Regions from separate parts of the Homo sapiens genome. Here region 1 is linked to region 2. Evidence: promoter capture Hi-C in human tissues and cell types (Jung and others, 2019). All regions are on one chromosome and are shown on one strand. The core of a region is centred on a gene start or on the middle of the fragment in contact, and the rest is flanking DNA. Distances in the headings are between cores, read along the strand shown. Region 1 overlaps ERN1 (endoplasmic reticulum to nucleus signaling 1). Region 2 holds the start of CSH1 (chorionic somatomammotropin hormone 1).

The links. Contacts are between HindIII fragments. The study calls those that stand out against the background at their distance.
Region 1: a fragment that was not itself captured here is called in contact with the fragment with the promoter of CSH1 in region 2 in 1 of the 25 tissues and cell types used here (spleen).

The regions. Positions count from the first base shown.
Region 1 is chr17:64,041,647-64,047,754 of GRCh38, reverse strand. It overlaps ERN1 (endoplasmic reticulum to nucleus signaling 1), which reads left to right. Exons shown (of 22, transcript NM_001433.5): 20 at 2,273-2,396; 21 at 2,828-2,895; 22 at 3,555-6,108. The coding sequence ends at 3,767. Among named protein-coding and RNA genes, the nearest start is that of ICAM2, 24 kb to the right of the region's middle. The HindIII fragment of the contact is 3,192 bases long and covers 1-2,846 here.
Region 2 is chr17:63,893,743-63,899,511 of GRCh38, reverse strand. CSH1 (chorionic somatomammotropin hormone 1) reads left to right here and starts at 2,938. Exons shown (of 5, transcript NM_001317.6): 1 at 2,938-3,010; 2 at 3,277-3,437; 3 at 3,662-3,781; 4 at 3,875-4,039; 5 at 4,293-4,594. The coding sequence starts at 3,001. The coding sequence ends at 4,490. The HindIII fragment of the contact is 19,326 bases long and covers 1-4,398 here.

The DNA of each region.
Region 1 (6,108 bases), core at 1-2,500, 150 kb before region 2:
AAACTGGAAGATAATCATGGCTGATGTTTTAATGTTTTCTTCATATATAAAAGTATAATTGGGATCTAACCGTATATACAGTTTCAGAATCCCTTTTTTTAACTGTACATGATATTTTAAGTTTCTTTCATGTTAAAGTTCTAAAATTCCAATGACCATAGTATTCTATCATATGGATGTGCCATAATGGTTAAGCTTTATATTATGGAATTTCCAAATATATAATACATAAATGTTTAAATGCTATAATGAGCACTCCTTTATTCATCCCTCAGGTTCAATAAATATTAACCTTCACCCTCTCCCCACCCCAGGTTATTTCGAAGTAAATCTCAGGCATCATATAATTTCATTCAAGTGTCATAAGCTTATTTATTTATTTTTATTTTTTTTGAGACAGCGTTTCACTCCGTTACCCAGGCTGGAGTACAGTGGTGCAATCTTGGCTCACTGCAACCTCTGCCTCCCGGGTTCAAGTGATTCTCCTGCCTCAGCTTCCTGAGTAGCTGGGATTACAGATATGCACCACCACGCCTGCCTAAGTTTTTTTGTATTTTTAGTAGAGATGGGGTTTCACCATGTTGGCCAGGCTGGTCTTGAACTCCGGACCTCAGGTGATCTGCCCGCCTCAGCCTCCCAAAGTGCTGGGATTACAGGCATGAGCCACCAGGCCCAGCCCAAGTGTCATAAATTTCAGTGCTTTCTTATATTGTATTTGTTTCTATCATCTTTTACACAGTCTTGGCCCAGATCTCCTTTTGCTTAAAATAGGTTCTGCAAAGTTAGAACTCCTTTGGTGATTTGACTGTTTTAAAGCTTTGTGACAATGTCAGGTGACTTTTGAAGAGGTAATGTGTTTTTCAAAGTCTTCCATGTATGAATTGAACATAACTCACCCGAACGCCTCCTGCCCAGCACGTGGCTCTGAAAGCAGGCTTGTGGGGCAGTGCTTTTCCCCTTGGGTCCAGGCAGAGTGCAGCTTGGTGGGCACCGTACTGAGAAGTGACCATCATGCTCTCCTGGGGTCTGACTGGGGCCTTGGCCAGAGGGAAGCCCCCAGAATGTAAGCTCCTCGAGGACAGGAGTGCTTGACTGCTGCATTCACTACTGTGTCCCTGCCTCCTAGGGAGGACGCTGCCTGGCCCAACCATTCAGATGGATCGGGTTGGGAAGAGTTTAATGCTGTCTTCCATGTTGTAGCATATGGATTGGTCACTGTGTCCATGGACATAATGTGAAAATTCTCAAGTCCATATGTCTTCCAGGGACTTGTGAAAACTAACCAGGTCATTTTGATCGCAAAATATAGAACAGGAATAAAACCCACACAAAGGGACCTTCACCCACCAAGGGACAGGATTTAAATGCTTAGTATCTCCAGGTCATATGTCTCTCGAACACACCTGGCTTCCACTCAGGTCATTTAGCCGTAACAGCTTTGCAGCTCAGACACGTGTGTTCCCAGTGTACCCAAGTTGACAATCTAACCTCTCCACAGCTTCTCTCTGACAATTGTAAATTAGGAGTTCAGCCAGTCTGGCTTCATCTTCATCATAGAAAAGGCTGCTCTGAGAAAAGGGTCTCCTAAGGCTACTTAACATTGATGTAGACAGGGCTCACCACTCCCTGTGTCCTCAGCTGTCGACCTGTCTTACTGGTGGGACTTCAAGAGGCCATACTTGGGTGCTTCCTGACCCTCTCCTTATTACCAAAGTCAAATGCAGAGCAAGGTTTGAATCCCAACAGGAGCCTCTGGAGCCCATACTCTTGCCACCAAGTTTCCTCTTTGAGAAGAAGGCCCAGCTTCACAGGTCTTTTCTACTGGTGGAGGGAAGAGTGGCGACCCTCCACCAGTTATGGGCTTGAGCATACCCTGTTTCAGTGAGTAGACAAAGCACGGGATGCACATCAAATCTGAGCTTTCCTTTTCTTTTTGGTTTTGGTTCATTGGATATAGATTGCACTTGCGGCTCCGTACACATGGCGTGTGTGTGCACATGTGAAATTCAGGGTATGCGTTCGTGGTCTATATGCAGGTGTACTCTGTGACACCTCTCTGACATGGGAGAAGCTCTCTGTGGGCCTGTGCTTCGTGAGGAACAGAGCAGCTCACAGGGAAAGTCATGGATGAGGGAGGGAGGGGGCAGGGTGCCTGCTGCCCAGCTCTGGGGCAGGCTTATGTGTCAGTGATGATCTGTTACTGAGTCCCAGTCGCACAGCTCTCAGCATCTCCAGCACTGACCATCATCTGCTGCCCTTGTTTCTCTCACAGGACGTGAGCGACAGAATAGAAAAGGAATCCCTGGATGGCCCGATCGTGAAGCAGTTAGAGAGAGGCGGGAGAGCCGTGGTGAAGATGGACTGGCGGGAGAACATCACTGTCCCCCTCCAGACAGGTGATCATGCTGCAGCGTGTGAGAGGGCAGGTTGCAAAAGTCGCTGCCGCCTTTCCAAAAAGTAAACGTGGAAATGGCCGCTCCAGGCTGTTCAGGCCCCACATCCCACCTGTCAGGTTTGAGACTTTCTTGGGTGTGTCCTCTGTGGTTTGGTTACACTGATGTGTGTTTCATTTTTGTTCCCTAGAGTGACAGGTGAGTGATGGTGTCGTGCTCTAGGTGGTCATTTCTGACCTGGGTGTGATCACCAGGTGGGGTTCAGGGGGATACCACCCTTGGGTTGGATGGGAGGATCTGCTCCCATGCCTAGGTGTGGAGTGACCTCACCTTTCAGTCCAACTCCCTAATCCCAGGACCCCATGAATTGTTTTCTTTTAAAATGTATTAGTTTTAAATTTGATTACCCATTGCTTCCCTCAATGTTTTTCTAGACCTGCGTAAATTCAGGACCTATAAAGGTGGTTCTGTCAGAGATCTCCTCCGAGCCATGAGAAATAAGGTAAGCAGTTTGTAAATGCTGGGGAGGAGACCCAGTGGCCATGACATGGACACCTTCCTCCTTTCATCCATTCTTTATAAATCTTTTATCTGTACTGGCATTCTCATCTCTCAGGAGCTAGGCGGCTTCAGCTGGACTTGGCAAACTGCAGGCTGTTGCCTCTCTTACGCTGATTTTCCCTTCAGGGACGTAGGTGCAGGTGAAGCTCCGGGAAGCAGTGCTCTGCGGCCCATGTCCCTCATGGTCTCTGGTCGCTGACTTTTGTGGGGCCCTCTCCCTGTCTGATGCAGCCACTGTGTGTAAACATGTATAAACATACCTCAAATGCGGGGACCCCACTGGGACGGACACTCCAATCTCAGGCGACTTTACTCCTCCTGAGGTGGCCAGGAGTGTCTCCAGGTCCTGACTGTCACAGAAGGCCTGAGCACCCCCTGGACTGGCTGGGCCTTGCTCACTTCAAGGCCTCCTCCTGAGTGAGGGTAGCAGGCGAGATGACGGGGCTGGATTCTTGGATACATAAGCCTTTTTTCTTTTTCTTTACCAAAAACCAACACTCACATTCTGTCTCTTCCTTGCATGATGAAAGGGTGTTTTGCCAACATTTCCCGAGCTTTCTAACCCCTTTCTAATCTCCCGAGCTTTCTAACTCTTTGCAGAAGCACCACTACCGGGAGCTGCCTGCAGAGGTGCGGGAGACGCTGGGGTCCCTCCCCGACGACTTCGTGTGCTACTTCACATCTCGCTTCCCCCACCTCCTCGCACACACCTACCGGGCCATGGAGCTGTGCAGCCACGAGAGACTCTTCCAGCCCTACTACTTCCACGAGCCCCCAGAGCCCCAGCCCCCAGTGACTCCAGACGCCCTCTGAGCGAGGGCGGCCCCTCTGTTCTGGTGGCCCCAGCTGTGACTGAGGGCCTGGTCACCACAATTAGAGCTTGATGCCTCCCGGCTTTGCAGGGAGACCAGGCTTCCCAAACCAAGTGCCTTGAGCTGCCTGCTCTGCAGCCCACAGAGGACAGTGCTGACCCCAGGAAGTGGGAGAAGTGGCCCCTCGTGACCTACAGGGAACTGGGAAGATGCTGGCCCCAAAAGCCTTACGGTCATGATGTCTGCAAAGGAGGGCCTCAGAGACAGCGCGAGTAGCACCCCCAGCCATCTACTGGATAAACTTGCTTCAGACTTTTTAAATTCCTGCTTAATGTCAGTCTACAGGCCTTTCAGGAAGGGAGAGGAGGGAATCGTACATTTTGCTTGCGTGCTGGGACAGCTAGGCTGAGATGCACCAAGTACAGCCTTCACTGGAGACCGGAATTGAGAGGTGGGGGATGCTGAGGAGGGGGAGGACGGAGTTCAGAGGGTGTCGTCCTGCAGTGTGAGATTTCTCATTGATCACAGATGTGCCCAGAGTAGCCCAGGTCACTGTTAACTAGTGTTTCTGCAGAGGCAGCAGGAGCCATGAGCATGAGGTGTGGCATTAGGGACTGGTCAGCTATGCATGCTGGCAGGTGGGGTTGTGTCTGCAGGTCTCAGAAATGAAGAGGCTGCTCTGTTCTGGAGGCAGCCGTGGCCCAGTGCCAGTGGCCAGAACAGTGGCCTTTGGTGGGTGTGTCCCGGGCCATCTCGGGGTGGTGCTCAGGAGCGCCTGGGGCAAGAGGTAAAGAGTTCCCTGGCCTTCAAGGAGAGCAGCGAAGACCCAGACAGGGGCCAGCCTTCAGGACCAGAGGGAGGCCGCCGAATGGGACCCTCCTGGTCACCAGGAGAAAGCCCTGGGCCAGCGAGTAGGCAGTCAAACTCCTTCGTCCCCAAGGCCGGTGGAACAAGAGGCTCGTGGTGAGTCAGGGCCAGGGTGGGTGGCCAAGGCCAGGGTCACCGTGTGCTTCATGGGCCAGCTTTTTTGTTTTTCTTGGCAAATTTTAATAACTATATTTTGATTATACTGTAGAATGCTATGTCAGCATAAGTAAGCTAAACTTGAAGCTTTCTTGTGAAGAATAAATGCAAGATAGAATACATCTTCTATTTTTTGTGGTACCAAAAATCACCATCCCCTCAAGAGTGTTCATGTATAGAACATTCTCTAATGCTGAAGAGTAAAACATTATAGCAACACTATGTAAATGTATTGAACAGTATCAAAGAAATAGTCTCTAAATTGTTTGTACCATATTTTTTTTTCTAAACTTAACATAATTTTTAGCTTTAGTTTCAGTCAAAACTTTGTCTTTTCTCTCCCGAGAGCCTTAGAGGTTAAAATGCAATCAGCCTACCGTGTAAGGAGATGTTGTCCATGTACTTTCTCCAGCCAGTTGGGGGATCATTGCAGCTCAGGCCTGGTGAACTCAGAGATTCCATTCAGTATTAAGAATGGGATTGTTGAATTTTACTCACAGAGAAATCACTGTTTCTTCATGTTGTAAGATGTTTTCTGTTTGTGTATTTGTATCATGGTTACTCATCAAAAGCTCTCATTCTGCCTTTGTAGAATTCAGTTCCCTTCCTTTCATCATAGCTAAAGTGACTTTTTTCCCTACTATTAACGTGATCCTACATCCTTAAATCTCATCGATTACCTCACTTAGGCCTTGGAACCTTGGCCCTTGGTCGGTGTCCTTGGCGTCTTCTAAGCAAGGCTGTGCGTTGTTCAGAAACGTGGCCAGACCGCATTTCCTGCTGCTCCCATGCCGCATGCCAGGTGGCCTGAGACAGAGCTCCCCATACGGCTGCAAGGTGCTTTACCTGTGGGCTTTGGCAGTAACCCAAGAGAGGATCAGAAGGTGGAGAAGGTGCCACGAGTGATTTAACAGGCCTGCCACAGGGAGTGCCCCCAGCCCAGCTCGTTCTCAGCACAGGTTTTCTCTTTGGGAGTACCCAGGTGATTTCTAGTGACCCAATTTTGTGTCATCTCCCTGTTTTAGCCCCACTTGCCTAGAGACAACTGTTTCCGATGCCTTTTCTGCTTATCATACTAGTTTCTAACCACGCAGATTTCTCAAAATCATTTATTCAATGTATTTTATTTGAGCACTTAGTGTATTGAGCTAGGCAGGATATAGGGTGCCGGAGATACAGCGATGAACAAGACAGGCAAAACTTCTGCTTTCCTAAAACTTGTGATGAGAGAGAACAATAAAAAAGTGTTGCTGCCACAAAGAAACCAAAGTGTGTGGGGAAGGGCGCGTGTTTGCGGTTTACATCTCTTCTGTCCCAGA
Region 2 (5,769 bases), core at 1,689-4,188:
CCACATGTTCCTGGCAGTAACCTGCATGGGGAGCCTCGCCACCCGTGTGCCCACCTGCGGAGTTATGTAGTGGTCCCCAACTAGGGCCCCTGCCACCCTCTTTCCTAAGGGAGGCTGCAGACTTCTTCCATGGCCAAAAATCCACATCTAAGTCCCCAGCACTGGCTAAAAGACCCTGTCATGGGGGCTCCCTGTCCCAGCTGACATTGGAGGAAGGATGGTGGGGGAGGCAGGGACCCTCTTCTACTTGGAGCTCAGGGACCCTCTTCCATTCCCACCTGGCTCCTCCTCTTTGCTGGTGCTGGAAGGAGCAGGGGAAAGTGGTGACTCCACCCTCCCTTGACCCCATATTTCTCAGAGCTGGTATCATCGATGACACCCCTCTTGGATCCTCCTACAGGCCTGCCTGGAGAACAGCTCACAGCACAGTGCCCTCCCAGCAGATGATGAGTCTGGGGTGCTAGTCCAGTAATGCTTCAGGAATGACGGCAGAAAAAGGAGCTCTGTTTTCTGCTCTGAAAGTGGGGAGATGGCAGGGCCCCAGCATTCACATCCTAGGCCACAGGGGTGTGGGTGTTCAATGTTGGTTGCCAACACCACTGCCAACCACTTCTGGAAGCGTTTGCCTGTTTGTTTGCTTGTGTTTCTACAGAGTCAAGTGCTAGATGCTCTTAAACTCGGGGGGAAGATTTCACCACTAGAGAGGGTGCTCTTTCCTGCTGCCATCTCTGGGGGCATCTGATGCTTGTGACCTCCAGATTATATTGAAATAGCCCCAACTCTGGGCACCAGGAGACAGGAGGCTCAGTCCTGGCCTTCTCTGCCTTCACCTTTTCCTGCTGTGAGGTTTCCACAAGGCACCCCATGCCACTGGGCCATTCTCACCTGAGAATTGAGAAAGAACAATCTGCCCCTTATGGAAAGACAAAATCAGGCAAAGGGCCCCTTGTGTTGGGGGCAGGATCCCTGCACTCAGAGGGATATAGAAGCTGAAATAACTGGGTTGGGAGCGGTGGCTCATGCCAGTAATCTCAGTACTTTGGGAGGCCAGGGAGGGTGGATCACCTAAAGTCAAGAGCTCGAGACCAGCCTGGCCAACATAGTGAAACCCCGTCTCTATTTAAAAAGTACAAAACTTAGCCCGGCATAGTGGCGGGCGCCTGTAATCCCAGCTACTAGGGAGGCTGAGGCGGGAGAATCACTGGAACCCAGGAGGTGGAGGTTGCTGTGAGGCAACATCATGCCACTGCACTCCAGCCTCAGAGACAGAATGAGACTCCATCAAAAACAAGAAAGAAAGAAAGACAAAGAGAGAAAGAAAGAAAGAAAGAAAGAAAGAGAGAGAGAGAGAGAGAGAGAGAGAGAGAAAGAAAGAAAGAAAGAAAGAAAGAAAGAAAGAAAGAAAGAAAGAAAGAAAGAAAGAAGGAAAGAAAGAAAGGAAACTAAAATAACTAAATAACTGAGTAGCACCACACCACCTGCTCTGGAGAAAGGACTTTTGTTGTTGTTGTTGTTGTTGTTGTCGTTGTTGTGGTTGTTGAAATGGAGTCTCACTCTGGCGCCCAGGCTGGAGTGCCATGGCCCAATCTTGGCTCACGGCAACCTCTGAGTCCTGGGTTCAAGCGATTCTACCTCCTCACCCTCCGGAGTAACTGGGATTGCAGGCTTCTGCCACCACACACAGCTACTTTTGTATTTTTAAGAGATGGAGTTTTGCCATGTTGGCTAGTCTGGCCTTGAACTCCTGACCTCAAGTGATCCACCCACCTCAGTCTTCCAAAGTGCTGGGATTACAGGCATGAGCCACCATGCCCGGCCTGGAGAAAGGACTTTAAATGACGCAATGTGGGAAGAGCCAGGTTGTGGAGATCTGCTGCCCTGGCTGAGGTAGCTCATGCAATCAGTCTCTCTGAGCCTCAGTCTCCTGATCTGTGAAATGGGATGATACTCATACCTCCTACACAAGACAAGTTGCAGGTCAGACGTGAGAATGCACAGGCAGGCCTTTGACAACTGGATAAGCTCTACACAGGTCTGGAAAGGAGGAAGAGACAAAAGAGGACGGGCTTCCATGGCTGGATAGGGCCTCTTTCGGCGTGATGTGTTCTGAGTTTTAAAGCTGGGGAAGAGACTCAAATCTTCAAGAGCTCTTCCAACTTTGAGATTCTCTGTTGGTTTCAGGACTATGGGAGGAAGCGCTTGTGGTCCGTGTCTGTTCCCGGGATTTCTGTTTCTTGGTTTGTATCTCTGCTTCAGGTCCAAGGAGCTGGGGCAATACCTTGAGTCTGGGTTATTCATCCCCAGGGACCTGGGGGAGCCCCACCGCCTCCGCCCCAAGGTTCAGGGAAAGGGGAGAGCAATGTGTGGGGTTGGTTCTCTCTAGTGGTCAGTGTTAGCACTGCATCCAGCTGACTCAGGTGGGCCCAGGAGTCATCAGCAAAAGTGGAATTCAGGACTCAATGGTGCTCAGAACCCCCACAATCTATTGGCTGTGCTTGGCCCCTTTTCCCAACACACACATTCTGTCTGGTGGGTGGAAGTTAAACACGCGGGGAGGAGGAAAGGAATAGGATAGAGAGTGGAATGGGGTCGGTAGGGGTCTCAAGGACTGGCTATCCTGACAGCCTTCCCCGCGTTCAGGTTGACCAACATGGCCTGCAGCCAGAGGGCACCCACCTGACCCTTAAAGAGAGGACAAGTTGGGTGGAGTCTGTGGCTGACACTCTGTGCACAATCCTTACAACACTGGTGATGGTGAGAAGGGAAAGACGACAAGCCAGGGGGCATGATCCCAGCATGTGTGGGAGGAGCTTCTAAATTATCCACTAGCACAAGCCCGTCAGTGGCCCCATGCATAAATGTACACAGAAACAGGTGGGGTCAAGCAGGGAGAGAGAACTGGCCAGGGTATAAAAAGGGCCCACAAGAGACCGGCTCTAGGATCCCAAGGCCCAACTCCCCGAACCACTCAGGGTCCTGTGGACAGCTCACCTAGTGGCAATGGCTCCAGGTAAGCGCCCCTAAAATCCCTTTGGGCACAACGTGTCCTGAGGGGAGAGGCAGCGCCCTGTAGATGGGACGGGGGCACTAACCCTCAGGTTTGGGGCTTATGAATGTGAGTATCGCCATCTAAGGCCAGATATTTGGCCAATCTCTGAATGTTCCTGGTCTCTGGAGGGATGGAGAGAGAGAAAAAAAACAAACAGCTCCTGGAGCAGGGAGAGCGCTGGCCTCTTCCTCTCCGGCTCCCTCCATTGCCCTCCGGTTTCTCCCCAGGCTCCCGGACGTCCCTGCTCCTGGCTTTTGCCCTGCTCTGCCTGCCCTGGCTTCAAGAGGCTGGTGCCGTCCAAACCGTTCCCTTATCCAGGCTTTTTGACCACGCTATGCTCCAAGCCCATCGCGCGCACCAGCTGGCCATTGACACCTACCAGGAGTTTGTAAGTTCTTGGGGAATGGGTGCGGGTCAGGGGTGGCAAGAAGGGGTGACTTTCCCCCACTGGGGAAGTAATGGGAGGAGACTAAGGAGCTCAGGGTTGTTTTCTGAAGCGAAAATGCAGGCAGATGAGCATAGGCTGAGCCAGGTTCCCAGAAAAGCAACAATGGGAGCTGGTCTCCAGCATAGAAACCAGCAGTCCTTCTTGGTGGGGGGTCCTTCTCCTAGGAAGAAACCTATATCCCAAAGGACCAGAAGTATTCATTCCTGCATGACTCCCAGACCTCCTTCTGCTTCTCAGACTCTATTCCGACACCCTCCAACATGGAGGAAACGCAACAGAAATCCGTGAGTGGATGCCGTCTCCCCTAGGCGGGGATGGGGGAGACCTGTGGTCAGGGCTCCCGGGCAGCACAGCCACTGCCGGTCCTTCCCCTGCAGAATCTAGAGCTGCTCCGCATCTCCCTGCTGCTCATCGAGTCGTGGCTGGAGCCCGTGCGGTTCCTCAGGAGTATGTTCGCCAACAACCTGGTGTATGACACCTCGGACAGCGATGACTATCACCTCCTAAAGGACCTAGAGGAAGGCATCCAAACGCTGATGGGGGTGAGGGTGGCGCCAGGGGTCACCAATCCTGGAACCCCACTGGCTTCGAGGGCTGGGGGAGAGAAATACTGCTGCCCTCTTTTTAGCAGTAAGGCGCTGACCCAAGAGAACTCACCTTATTCTTCATTTCGCCTGGTGAATCCTCCAGGCCTTTCTCTACACCCTGAAGGGGAGGGAGGAAAATGGATAAATGAGAGAGGGAGGGAACAGTGCCCAAGCGCTTGGCCTCTCCTTCTCTTCCTTCACTTTGCAGAGGCTGGAAGACGGCAGCCGCCGGACTGGGCAGATCCTCAAGCAGACCTACAGCAAGTTTGACACAAACTCGCACAACCATGACGCACTGCTCAAGAACTACGGGCTGCTCTACTGCTTCAGGAAGGACATGGACAAGGTCGAGACATTCCTGCGCATGGTGCAGTGCCGCTCTGTGGAGGGCAGCTGTGGCTTCTAGGTGCCCGAGTAGCATCCTGTGACCCCTCCCCAGTGCCTCTCCTGGCCCTGAAGGTGCCACTCCAGTGCCCACCAGCCTTGTCCTAATAAAATTAAGTTGTATCATTTCATCTGACTAGGTGTCATTCTATAATATTATGGGGTGGAAGGTGGTGGTATGGAGCAAGGGGTAGGTGGAAAGAAGACCTGGAGGGCCTTCAAGGTCTATTGGGAACTAGGCCACTGAAATATAAGAGGTTTGGCTGTTCCTGGGCCAGAAAAAAGCTGACACATCACTGCTGTCTATTACTCACTAAGGCCATTCCACCAGCTCAGTGGTCCCAGCTTGCTGGTCACAGCCCATTGGTCATCTCAGAGATGACTTGAAGGCATTTCTTCCTCCCCCACCATCACCAGCAACACCAAACCTAGCCCCCCAGGAGCGGAAAGAAATGAAAACAAGATGGGCTATTAAGTGCAGAGGCAAAAACTCCCCAACAGGTGAGGAAACAATGGCATAGAATTACTTGTGTTCGGAAGAATTTTAAGATGAGTATTCCTTAAGCCCAACTACTCTCGGGAAATGAGAACAATGCAAAAATGAGTTTGAGACATACAGAACCAGAGCATTTGGAATCTGAATTAGGGCAAGGGAAGTGGAAGAGAGATTTTATTTGGGGTTGTAAATGCAGTGCCAACAGGTTCCAGGTAGATAACAATGTAAGCAATGAGGGCTGGATGGGAGGGGATAAATCCCAGATGACACTCACTTCCCTTCGGGGGATGCAACACAGAGGGGTGGGAACCAGCACAATCTGCAGAACTCAGGCCCCTGCTGAGGTGGGACCCACCCAGCCTGTCACCATCAGGACTGCAGGGACACGGCTTCCAGACCTTCTGACCTTTTGAGACAGCCAGGACATCCAGACTTTTACAGGAATTCTAACATTTAAACACTGGCAACACATATTGAAAATCTTTTAAGGGCAAAAATTAACCGAAACACACATGGTCTCCAAGCTGTCTGTGAGCAATTTTGTTCTAAGAGATGTTGATTGGGGTAACTTGGTGTAAGGGAAAGAATCAGAAAGATTTGGGCTGTATGTAATTTAGTGCCCCCGAATAAATTACTTGACCAAGCTGAGATAATAATATATTGCTTTACAAGGATTATGTGAGGACTAAATGCAATGGTATTTTTGATATATTATAGTACTCAAGAAATTCTAGCTATTTCTGCATTGAATTTTTGGATGTTTTGTGTTTTCTGATGGAGTGTCTAAATACCTGTAGTGAAATTA